Regions from separate parts of the Homo sapiens genome. Here regions 2, 3 and 4 are each linked to region 1. The links are contacts of gene promoters, found by promoter capture Hi-C in human tissues and cell types (Jung and others, 2019). All regions are on one chromosome and are shown on one strand. Each heading gives the region's core, a stretch centred on a gene start or on the middle of the fragment in contact. The rest is flanking DNA. Distances are from core to core; before and after follow the strand shown.

Evidence for each region. The method cuts DNA at HindIII sites, captures the fragments that hold promoters and counts their contacts. A contact is called where the count stands out against the background at its distance.
Region 2: a contact is called between a fragment that was not itself captured here and the fragment with the promoter of CDH20 in region 1, in 2 of the 25 tissues and cell types used here (bladder and mesenchymal stem cells).
Region 3: a fragment that was not itself captured here is called in contact with the fragment with the promoter of CDH20 in region 1 in 2 of the 25 tissues and cell types used here (hippocampus and mesendoderm cells).
Region 4: a fragment that was not itself captured here is called in contact with the fragment with the promoter of CDH20 in region 1 in 1 of the 25 tissues and cell types used here (aorta).

What each region holds. Positions count from the first base shown.
Region 1 is chr18:61,332,052-61,334,725 of GRCh38, forward strand. It overlaps CDH20 (cadherin 20), which reads left to right and starts at 1,379. Exons shown (of 12, transcript NM_031891.4): 1 at 1,379-1,776. The HindIII fragment of the contact is 19,388 bases long and covers 1-2,674 here.
Region 2 is chr18:62,171,777-62,174,450 of GRCh38, forward strand. The region is part of intron 1 of PIGN (phosphatidylinositol glycan anchor biosynthesis class N); the gene reads right to left. Among named protein-coding and RNA genes, the nearest start is that of PIGN, 14 kb to the right of the region's middle. The HindIII fragment of the contact is 3,342 bases long and covers 1-2,674 here.
Region 3 is chr18:62,116,249-62,118,922 of GRCh38, forward strand. All of the region lies in intron 14 of PIGN (phosphatidylinositol glycan anchor biosynthesis class N), which reads right to left. Among named protein-coding and RNA genes, the nearest start is that of PIGN, 69 kb to the right of the region's middle. RefSeq lists an enhancer at 1,513-1,682. The HindIII fragment of the contact is 3,092 bases long and covers 1-2,674 here.
Region 4 is chr18:60,652,495-60,655,168 of GRCh38, forward strand. No RefSeq gene overlaps it. Among named protein-coding and RNA genes, the nearest start is that of MC4R, 280 kb to the left of the region's middle. The HindIII fragment of the contact is 6,274 bases long and covers 1-2,674 here.

The sequences.
Region 1 (2,674 bases), core at 129-2,628:
TTCAAGGGTCAACTGCCCTTACTTTATTGAGCCACATCTGCATCATCTATTAAAATAGAGAAATAATAGTCTAGACTGAATAGAGTTGTTGGAAAAATGAAATGAAATAACATGTGTAACACATGTCTGTCACATAACAAGTTCTCCATAAACATTAGCTATTCTGCTATTAATAATCATTGTTATAACTATGAGTTCTAATTCTAGGCCTGCTGAAAGCTATTAAAATATGGCATGACTGCCTTAACTGGGATACTATTTCTATTGTCACACACTTGGGAATCTTATTGGATGTTTATATATATCATTTTATCAGTTCTTTACACACATTGATCATTTGGCCACAGAGCAGTTGTACAAATAGATTATTTAGTAACCTATCAATTCAATCAAAATAACTTGCTCTATTACAATCAGTGATGGGGGAGGAAATCCTCCAAGCACCTTGCTTGAAGAGAAATGTAGAAACCACATCGGGCAAAAAGTCCCCCTCCAGCCACTGTGAAACCCAAGTTGTCGTCAGTAACTTGACATTCTAGGGTAGGAATCAGGACAGGAGAGAGGTGATCTCTCCTTTTGACCTTGTGTATTCTGACCTCAGAAATAAGAGCTGGAATTGCCTTCTGGAATGGGCCTGTCACAGTATTGTGTGATTTGGGGGACCCCCTTCATCTGGGAGAGAAGGGTGGTCTCAGCTTCCACCTCAGAAATTTCTGACCCTTAATATACCTCCACCCCATCTCTAGTTAAAGGCTTAAAACTCTAAGATTTTCCTATGAGGACAAAAAGAAAAGGAAATCTGAGCATTTGAAGAAATTCTTAAAAGTCGATGAGTGAGGTTTCCCTCACACATGCCATCTTCCCCTACCTCTCCTCTTGAAAACAATGTCTTTTGCACCCTCAAGGTCAAGGTTAAACCCGAGTTGGTACTCATTTCCTTTCTGATTTTATTTGCCTTATCCTGTTCTACTCCTCAATTGCCTCTTCCAGAATCTGTGCAAAATAATTACCTCAACTTCAGGGGAAAGTTTAGATGTAAATACCCCCGCCCCCCTCCCCACGTCCACACATCCCCTTTCTTCTCTCTCCCTCTTAACATTTCCTTACGCTCTCAGCCAATAGAGGAGTTGAAACATTTAAATGCGGTATCTAAACTGCATTTAAAGAATTAACCCATTTTGCCCCTCACTGGTCTAAACCACAGGGTGCCAACCGGACGTTAATTGCTTTCATCTGGTGGGGTTCCAGACAGCTCCTCAGAAGGAAGGAGCGCACATTCCTGGCACCAATTGGCTAATTCAATTTACTTCAGCGGCATTAGCCTCTGTCAGAATATTCATGAGCAGGGGAATGAGGACCCGCGGTACAGGCAGGCAGCAGCCACTCCTGCTAGGGAAGGCGCGAGGGAGGGGAAGCGGACCGCGCGCCACGCTCGGGGGACGGTGACCGCGACCAGGGGGCTCTTCTCACTGGACAGGCCGAACGCGGTGGCCGCGGGAGGGCAGGGCAGGGCATCGGCGGGGTTGGTGCACTTGGCAGTACCCCCCAACTCCTGGCAACCGCACGGAGACTTTGCGAAACATCCGAAGGCAGAAAAGCTGTGACACTTCTGACAGAGGGGGTAGGGGGGTGGGGGGCGGGGACAGCGCCGCGAGCAGGGGTGAAGAGACCCAGCGGGGCACCAGCCGCCCAGTGGGGGAGGCAGCTACGTGAGCAGAACGCCCGCCCTGGAGCAGTTAGGACCGAAGGTCTCCGGAGAGTCGCCGGCGGTGCCAGGTAACGCAGAGGGCTCGGGTCGGGCCCCGCTTCTGGGGCTTGGGACTCCGGGCGCGCGGAGCCAGCCCTCTGGGGCGAAATCCCCGGGCGGCGTGCGCGGTCCCTCTCCGCGCTGTGCTCTCCCAGCAACTCCCTGCCACCTCGACGAGCCTACCGGCCGCTCCGAGTTCGACTTCCTCGGACTTAGTGGGAGAAGGGGTTGGAAATGGGCTGCCGGGACTGGGGGAGCTGCTCTCTGGAAGCAGGGAAGCTGGGGCGCACCGGGGCAGGTGGAGGACGTGGCGCGCTGGGAGCGGGGACTGCGCGCGCCTGGGGATGGTGACTGGGGATCCAGGAGCGCGGCTTGTGGGGGCGCTTGGCACGGCTTCACCCTCGCTGGCCCCGCAGGCGGTGGCGCCTCCCTCCGCCTGCAGAGGGGACAGGGTGGCCGCGTCCCTCGCACAGAGATGTGCGCCGGGAAGGGGACCAGAGAGCCAGGCTCCGGGGAGGCGCAGGCACCTACGGGGCCGATCCCTGGTCCGTGCCTCGCGCCGCGCCCCCGCCGGAGCTCGGCTGTGGGAGGAGAATGTGGTGGGTACTCGAGTCCCCGCCACCTGCCGGACTTCGCCAACTCCCCGGATTTCCTGTCCTCGGGCCCTGACACTCCCAAGGAAAGCTCTGAATTGCGCTCGCTGTTTGGTTTTTGCTTGTTGTAGTTACTCTGGGGGAAGAGCCGGGGGCAAGGGGGTCAAATGGGGCTAAAGTTTCAGATTTGCAAAGAGAACGTTACCGAGGACTCTCAACGTGTCCTTAGCAATCGGAGAGACTGCAGCAGCCTTTGCCTAGCTATCCGCCTCTGGGGCAGCAGTGGGGGCTGAAATCTGGAAGGCAGCCCGGAGGCAGCGTCAGAGCCTTGTTT
Region 2 (2,674 bases), core at 93-2,592, 840 kb after region 1:
ATTAAATTTCAAATGTTAAACGCATCTTACATTCCCAGAATAAACCCCACTTAGTCATTAAGTATTATCCTTTCTACATATTGTTGGTCTTAGTTAAAATTTTACCATTTTTTGCAGCAAAGTTTATGAAAGATATAAGACTATAATTTTCTTTTCTTATATCTTTCTGTGGTTTTGGTATCAGACAATGAGTTGGGAAATGCTGTTCCTTCTTGTACTTTTTGGAAGAGTTTGTGTAAAATTTGTATTATTTCTTCCTTTATCGAATAACAAAATTCACCAATGAAACCACTGGCTTGGGGTTTTCTTTGTGACAAGGTTTTCAACCATATATCCAATGTCTTCACATATATAGATACAGATAAACACATATAGATATTCAGGTTATCTATTACTTCTTAAGTAAGCTTTCGTAGTTTTTAAGGAATTTATCCATTTGTCCATTTCATCCTAACTGTCAAATTTATTGACTAAAATTGTCCATAATATTTACCTATTATCCCTTTTTCCTGTCCTGCAGTCCAGGATCCAGTCTAAGGGCAAGTATCACATTAGTTATTCAAAATAAGTCATTTTTCAAGTACTTAATTCCTTTCAGTTAGATCTTAAATTCTATCCAGAGCTAAAGTACATATGGCATATTTAGATTTACAGATGTTCACTTTGATTTAAACACCTCCTCTTTATCATGGAAATAAATCTTAGTACTCTAATATGTACTTACACATATGTACTTAACTTAGTACTCTAATAATGTACTTAACTTATAAGTACATTAAGATGTATTTGTAAATGCAAATGTGCATTTGTAAATGCAAATGTATATTTGTAAATTGTAAATGTAAATGCAAATGTATATTTGCATTTACAAATAACTCCCTGGGCTCATGTTCTTTCTTGTCCCATTTGCCACTGCACTGCTTTGCTAAGTTAAGTATCAAAGTTTATGTGTTAAAAGATAATATAAATTTTCCAAGGTTTACTGAAGTAACAAAACATTTTATTTCAGAACTTTGACCATCTTAAAGTTATAATAGCCAACACAAAAATCTAGTTCTGTTACATAATAAGAGTGGATTCTAGTAAAGCCACTGTTACTGTTTCCTTATCCATAAAAAAAGACACTGTCAGCCCTACTCCATTACAGAAGTATTATGGGAAATAAGTAGACTCCCCAATGACACCATACGAACACAAAATATTAGCAATACTAAAAATAACTAGATTGTGAAGCAACCCAACTCATATTTTTAAAATCAACCTGTAAATAGTTGACTTTACATTATGCTGAAGAAAGCAATAGAAGAGACAAAGATATATTTTCCTGCCAAATTGGTAATTAAGATTGGGACTTCTTATTGGTGATCCAAATCATGCAAATAAACTCTGTAAATAACAAGCATTTTGACAATAACTCTATTCAGCCATTTATTAGGTTACGGTCTACAAAATTTTAAAACGCAACTTGGTGTCTATTCTGTTTATTTATTTTTGAGACAGTAGCCTCACTCTGCCACCCAGGCTGGAGTGCAACAGCACAATTTCCGAGCCTCAGACAATCCTCCCACCTCAGCCTCCCTAGTAGCCGGGACCACAAGGTGTGCCACTACACCTGGCTAATTTTATTTTACTTTTTCTAGAGACTGGGTCTCACTGTGTCACCCAGGCTGGTCTTGAACTCCTGGGCTGAAGCAATCCTCTCACCTCAGCCTCCCAAAAAGTGCTGGGATTACATGTGTAAGCCATTGCACCCAGCCTTGGTGTCTATTTTGGATGCACTTGGAGATCATGTCCTTAGCGGATTCTGGCATTAGGTACATTACTAAAATTACCCAAACTTTGTATTTCTTACCTGTAAAATGCAGATAATACTGATGAACTATAAAAATGGTTGTGAGGATTAGAATAAACGTATGTCAAGTACCTAGCCCAACACTTGGCACTCAGTAAATGATAACACTTCAGTTTTGCTTCACAAAGATAAATTAAACATTATGAAATAAGAATAGTCATATGGTCACTAAATTCTGCCAATTCAACCACCTAATTAATTCTCTCCCTTCATCCTTTCCAATTGGAACACAAGGAAGAGCAACAAATAGGTGGCAAAAGCTAAAAAGCCTTCCATAATTTCACTATTAAAACTGATCATTTCTCGGCCGGGTGCGGTGGCTTACGCCTGTAATCTCAGCACTTTGGGAGGCCAAGGAGGGCAGATCACGAAGTCAAGAGTTCGAGACCAGCCTGACCAATGTGGTGAAACCCCATCTCTACTAAAAATACAAAAATTAGCTGGGCATGGTGGCGGGCACCTGTAATCCCAGCTACTCAGGAGGCTGAGGCAGGAAAATCACTTGAATCTGGGAGGCGGAGTTTACAGTGAACCAAGATCATGCCACTGCACTCCAGCCTGGGCGACAAAGCGAGACTCCAACTCAAAAAAAAAAAAAAACTGATCATTTCTCATCTTCTCATTGTCTGCCTTAGAAACACTTCCATGGTAGCTCCTAGTTCACTGCTGTAATTACTTACTTTTTCAGTTTTACATACCAAATTATATGATCTTTTAGACACACTCCCATTCACTTCTATATTCACAACATTCTTCCACTTGTGACTGACCCATTAATAGCTCCTTAGTAAATGTTTATTGCCTATATGAAGAAATGGCATA
Region 3 (2,674 bases), core at 79-2,578, 780 kb after region 1:
AAGGCTATATCTAAGTTGAATTTCCCAAATTTCCATAAAAGCTTTCTAGTTGACCTCCTTCCTCTTGCTCTGATCCACTCAGCTTCCTAAAATACTGATTGCATCCTCTCACTTACAATTGATATGGGCATCTCACTGTCTACTTCATCAATTCTAATCTTCCTGGACTATTGATGACCCTCTGCTGCTACTTCACTTAATTTCCCATTATCGCAAATGTGTACCCTCAGCTGCATAATGGTGAAACTCTTCAAGCTTCACCTAGCTGGTATCATAAAGATGTTCCCCTCTTTGCTTTCTAAAATCAAATATTCATCATCCTTTATGGTCTACTCCAAATCTCACTTCACATCATTAGCACTTCAGTTAGTGGTCTAATGATCAGTTTATTTCTCTTCAATTAAATTTTAGCCTCCATGTGGGCCAAGATAATGTCTTATATTCCATTAATATCCACAATAATACTTAGCAAAGTGCTAAAGCACATAAAATGAATCAATAAATTTTGAATACAATGCTATCAAAATATTGCAGACCTAAAAAAGGAAGAAAAATAAGAGACTACCATACGTTGCCATTTGTAATGTACCTAAAATTTAAAATAAAAAGAAAGGAAAAAAAGCTTGTCTGAAGCTAAATTACTTAAGCTAATTTAACAGACATTCTGTTAAGTGAAGTCTTATGAAGAATAAGAGAAAAAAATTCTTAAGGAGAAATATTTACATTATATATTATGTTATGTTATATTATATTGGAAGTATTAAGGTAAAGAAACAGGAGTCAGGGTAATTTGTAATTTTTCCTAAATGCACTATTTATAAAACTTGGGACATGCCAAAGGTAGACATATCAAAGATTTGCAATATATCTGGAATTCACCAAATGTTCTATACAAGCCTCAATGTATCACCATGACATTAAAGACTCTCATACACTTGTCCCCAAATATACGTTTTATTTTTAGTTTTCCATCAAATTGAGAGGGGATATAAAGTAAATTTTCTTGGTATCACATACTTTAAACATAAAGAGGTTTTGTAAGAAATATAAAGTCTAGAATATAGAGTAAAATATGTTCAGATTTATGTAAACAAAACCAAATAACAACAAAATAAATGGGGGTTGGCAGAGGAGTAATTAAAGGAATGCCATATGTGAACTAAAATGAACAAGGGAGATCTATACATATAAACATGGATAAATCCTGAAAACCAAACTAAATAGAAAAAAGAACTGTTAAATAAAATAGATTTTTAAAATAGGGATTGAAGTGTATTACACCATTTTATTCCTCAGCCCCCCCCTCTAAAAAGAATCTAAATATGGTAAAATGTTAACATTTTCTTAAACCTGAGTTGTGGGTACAACAATTTTTATTATATCCTCTATTCTTTTCAGCATGTTTGAAATATTTTATAAATAGAACTTGAAATATAACAAGAAGGATATACATATATCATGTATACATATGTATTCTTGTCTACTTCATCAATTCTATTCTGTCAATTCTTGTCTACGTCATCAAAGCTATTTTTTTTAGCTCCCACATATGAGTGAGAACATGTAAAATTCGTCTTTCTGTGGCGGCCTTATTTCACTTAACATAATGATCTCCAGTTCCACCCATGTTGCTGCAAATGACAGGATTTCATTCTTTTTTATGAATGAATAATATTGCAATATACAAGACGCATCATGTATATATACCATATTTTCTTTATCCCTTAATCCACTGATGGGCACTTGGATTGATTCCATATTTTAGCTACTGCAAGTAGTACTGCAATAAACATAGGAGTGCAGATTATCTCTTCAATATATTGATTTCCTTTCTTTTGGATATTATTGGATATTATTTAGATTATATTCCTGTATATATGTATACATGATATAGATAGATAGATACATAATAAACTGCAACTTTGCCTCCAAAGAAAAAGACTATAAGACTGGAATACAGGAGGAAAAGTGACTTTTTATTATTGTTTGTATAAATTTTATTGTGTGCATGCATTACTTGTTCATTAACACTTTTAAATAAAATGACTAAAACACTAAGATTTAACCATAACTTCTGGTTATGCCAGAGAAGCTTTGGGCATAGCAATGCTCCCACCAAGAACAACTAGAAAGCCCAATAAAATAAATTTGAAGGTACCAAAACAATCAAGTAATGAAAGGCTAAGATCCTAGAGAGAAGGAAACCACAGGGAAGTAATCCAAAATTCTACAAACTGTAACTCTGAGGGAATCTACCATTGTTATTCTTGGCACAAAGCAAGAGGCTGAGAATTTGGGGATATAGCTGCTGCCAGGAAGTAGAGAATCCAAGAGTCTTTGGCAATCTTGGAAGACTGGAGAGATAAAAATTAAAGTTTTTAGCTGCCAATGCAGCCAGAACTTGAGGACCTAAAAAGGAAGAAAAATAAGAAAATAATATACATTTTCATTGTGGATTTTTTAAGAAAGACATTTTAAAAGTGCATCTGGAATTTTAAACTAACACATATTCTGAGGTGAAATCTTAAGAAGAGTGAGAGAAAGAGCTTTTATAAGAAAGAAATATTATATTATACTATATTATTCAGAGAACTCAGGTAAAGAAAGAAAGGCCAAGTCTTGATGAGAAAAGAGGTGAAAAAAAAAAAAGGTAAGTCTGACACTCATTTGTATA
Region 4 (2,674 bases), core at 83-2,582, 680 kb before region 1:
GGCAGTACAGAAAAAAGATCAAGTACTTAAAAGTATGTAAAAATGACAAAACAAATAAAAAAGCACTTTACCATGCCTATATATGAACACTAGCATACAGATTTCCTATTAACAAAAATGTTACCTTTTATAGGGTAATTAAGAAGTGGGTTTCCTGGGTCATATAATAAATACATGTTTAACTTTATAAAAAATTGCCAAACCATTTTACAGTGGCTGTACAATTTTAAATTCCCACAGCAAAGCATGAGTGTTCACATTGCTTTATATCTTTTCTGACACTTGGAATTTTTAGTCCTTTTTATTTCAGTTCTTCTAATACATGTAAGGTGGTATCCCGTTGTGGCTTTAATCTGAATTTATCTAATGGCCTTTTTAAAAATTTTTCAAGAACTAGAGAAGACTGAACATTTTTATTTATGGAATGTTGGGAACAATAGAAGGTTCTTAAGCAGATAATAGGATATAGCATATACATAGATGTCAAGACAAGTTTCAGTTTGTGCTTTCTTTAGCTCCCATTACAACCCATCTCTTTAATTAAAGTTTGCTGACACATCCCAGAATTTGGCATAATCCTTTCCAGTCTTGGCTCAAATAAAATAATCTGTGAAGATTTTAAGTGACTGAGCTGCTGGGATCAGTGCAGGATCTACTGACATGGGTTCTCCAGGGCTTTGCCATGCTTGATGTTTTTGCAAAGACTGCCATTGCAGAGGCAGGATTGGGAACACTAACTAGAATTCAGCAGGTCTGGAGTCCAAGAGGGTCTCCAAAATAGTCACTACCTAAGCCAATGCAAACTCCTCCTGCCTCCAACCACCGTGACAACTGAACACTGGGTAACCTACATAAAGTCTCCTTCTCTGTTAAGAGGGATGCCTATGTGTTCTTATAGCCCTTCATTCATTGCCTGAATTGTCACTCATATGCATGCTACATAATTGTATAAATAATTCTAAATGAGTTGAAAAATAGAATATGAATTGTATTTAATTTGCCAAATGCTTGATGAAATTAAGCAGAAATGCAACTTTGATGGTGTTTTCTTTACTCCTTTACAAAATGGAAGGAAGAAAATCTTATTTTCAGGTGATCTGACACCAATAGAGAAATAAGAACCATCATAAAGACCTCATCATGGCCATAATTTATAATTTCTGTAACCTCAAATTATCAGAATTTCTACTTCCAAGCAGAACCATATCTTACCCAACACAGAGCTGCTTTGTCCATGCATACCATGACCATAAACATGGACATATTGTGCTTTGGGAGGCTGAGGCAGGAGGACTGCTTGAGGCCAGGAGTTTGAGACCAACCTGAGCAACATAATGATATCCTGTCTCCACAAAAAGTAATAATAGTTAAAAAAACAAAAAAAGTCTCAGCCCTCAGCCACTGGAGACACTGAGACAGAAGGATTACTTGAGCCCAGAAATTTGAGTTTACAATGAGCTTTGATTACACCACAGAACTCCAGCCTGGGTGACAGAGGTAACTTGTCTCAAAAAAAAAAAAAAAAAGGAGATATTCCATGTTAACCACTGCCATCTCCTTTCCTATTATCAATTATCATAGATTATCCAGACATAATATTTTATTAAGTATGAAATTTCATAGTCAGAAATTTGTGTTGCACGATGTAATTTGTTTAACCTTCTTATATTTTAACTTTCTTTGGTATCTTATTTTTTACATTAGCAAATAATGTAAGCTTGAAAATTTAAAGTATTTTTGCCTCTTCCAAGTAAAAACTAATTATCCTAGGATTCTACATCCATTTTCGTTCTTCTTTTCATATTTATTCTGAGGGTAATCTCATTAGAGGTAGAAATAATATTTAATAACACTGCTATGGGGGGCAGTAGAAAGCAAATAATTCAGGCTCTGCTCTTTCTGCATAACCTGAACCCCTCTGTTTTGTATTGGCAGGTAATGTGAATGCCTTCACTTGGATGTGCCTCCTATTACTGAAGAACCCCTCATGATGTGTCCTTGTGTCATTCAGCACTTCCACAGACCTCTTTGGAAGTCTCAGCTGCTTTCCCCGCACCACACTAGGGGTGCTGGTTTTAAAACCAAGATTTAAAACATAACAAAATACACAACAGCTTTGGTTTTTGGGCCCTCCCCTAGGCCAGTTGGGACTTTTCTGTTCTCTCCATTCGCCATTCTGCCTTCAGTTTTATCCTAGTTTGTGATGGAGGAATGGATAAGGTATTGGGTGATTCTTCTGTGTCTGAGCTTTACTCATTTTCAATCCCTTTTACAGCCCATCCTCTGGCCCAGAAGAGGTTTGTTTCTGCCCTTTTTTATCACATGACCTAACTTTATTTCAGACTTTTTGGTCCATACTATCAATTCTATACCCTGAGTACTCCAGACTTCTCTGAACTGTATAATTACTGCCAATTGAAAGTGCTTTGACTGAATTCATGGTATCCCATTGCAAGACTTCCCATAAAGCTACACTAATCAAGCAAAAGGATACTTTCAAAAGGATAGGCACTTAGATCACTAGAGAAGAATATAGTCTAGAAATAAACCTACGCAAGTATAGTAAATTAATTTTTGACAAAGATGCAAAGATAGATATATTAATTGAGAAATAAGAGGTACCCAAAAAGGGATCTTGATCCATATCTCACAATGTGTGCAAAAACAAACTCAA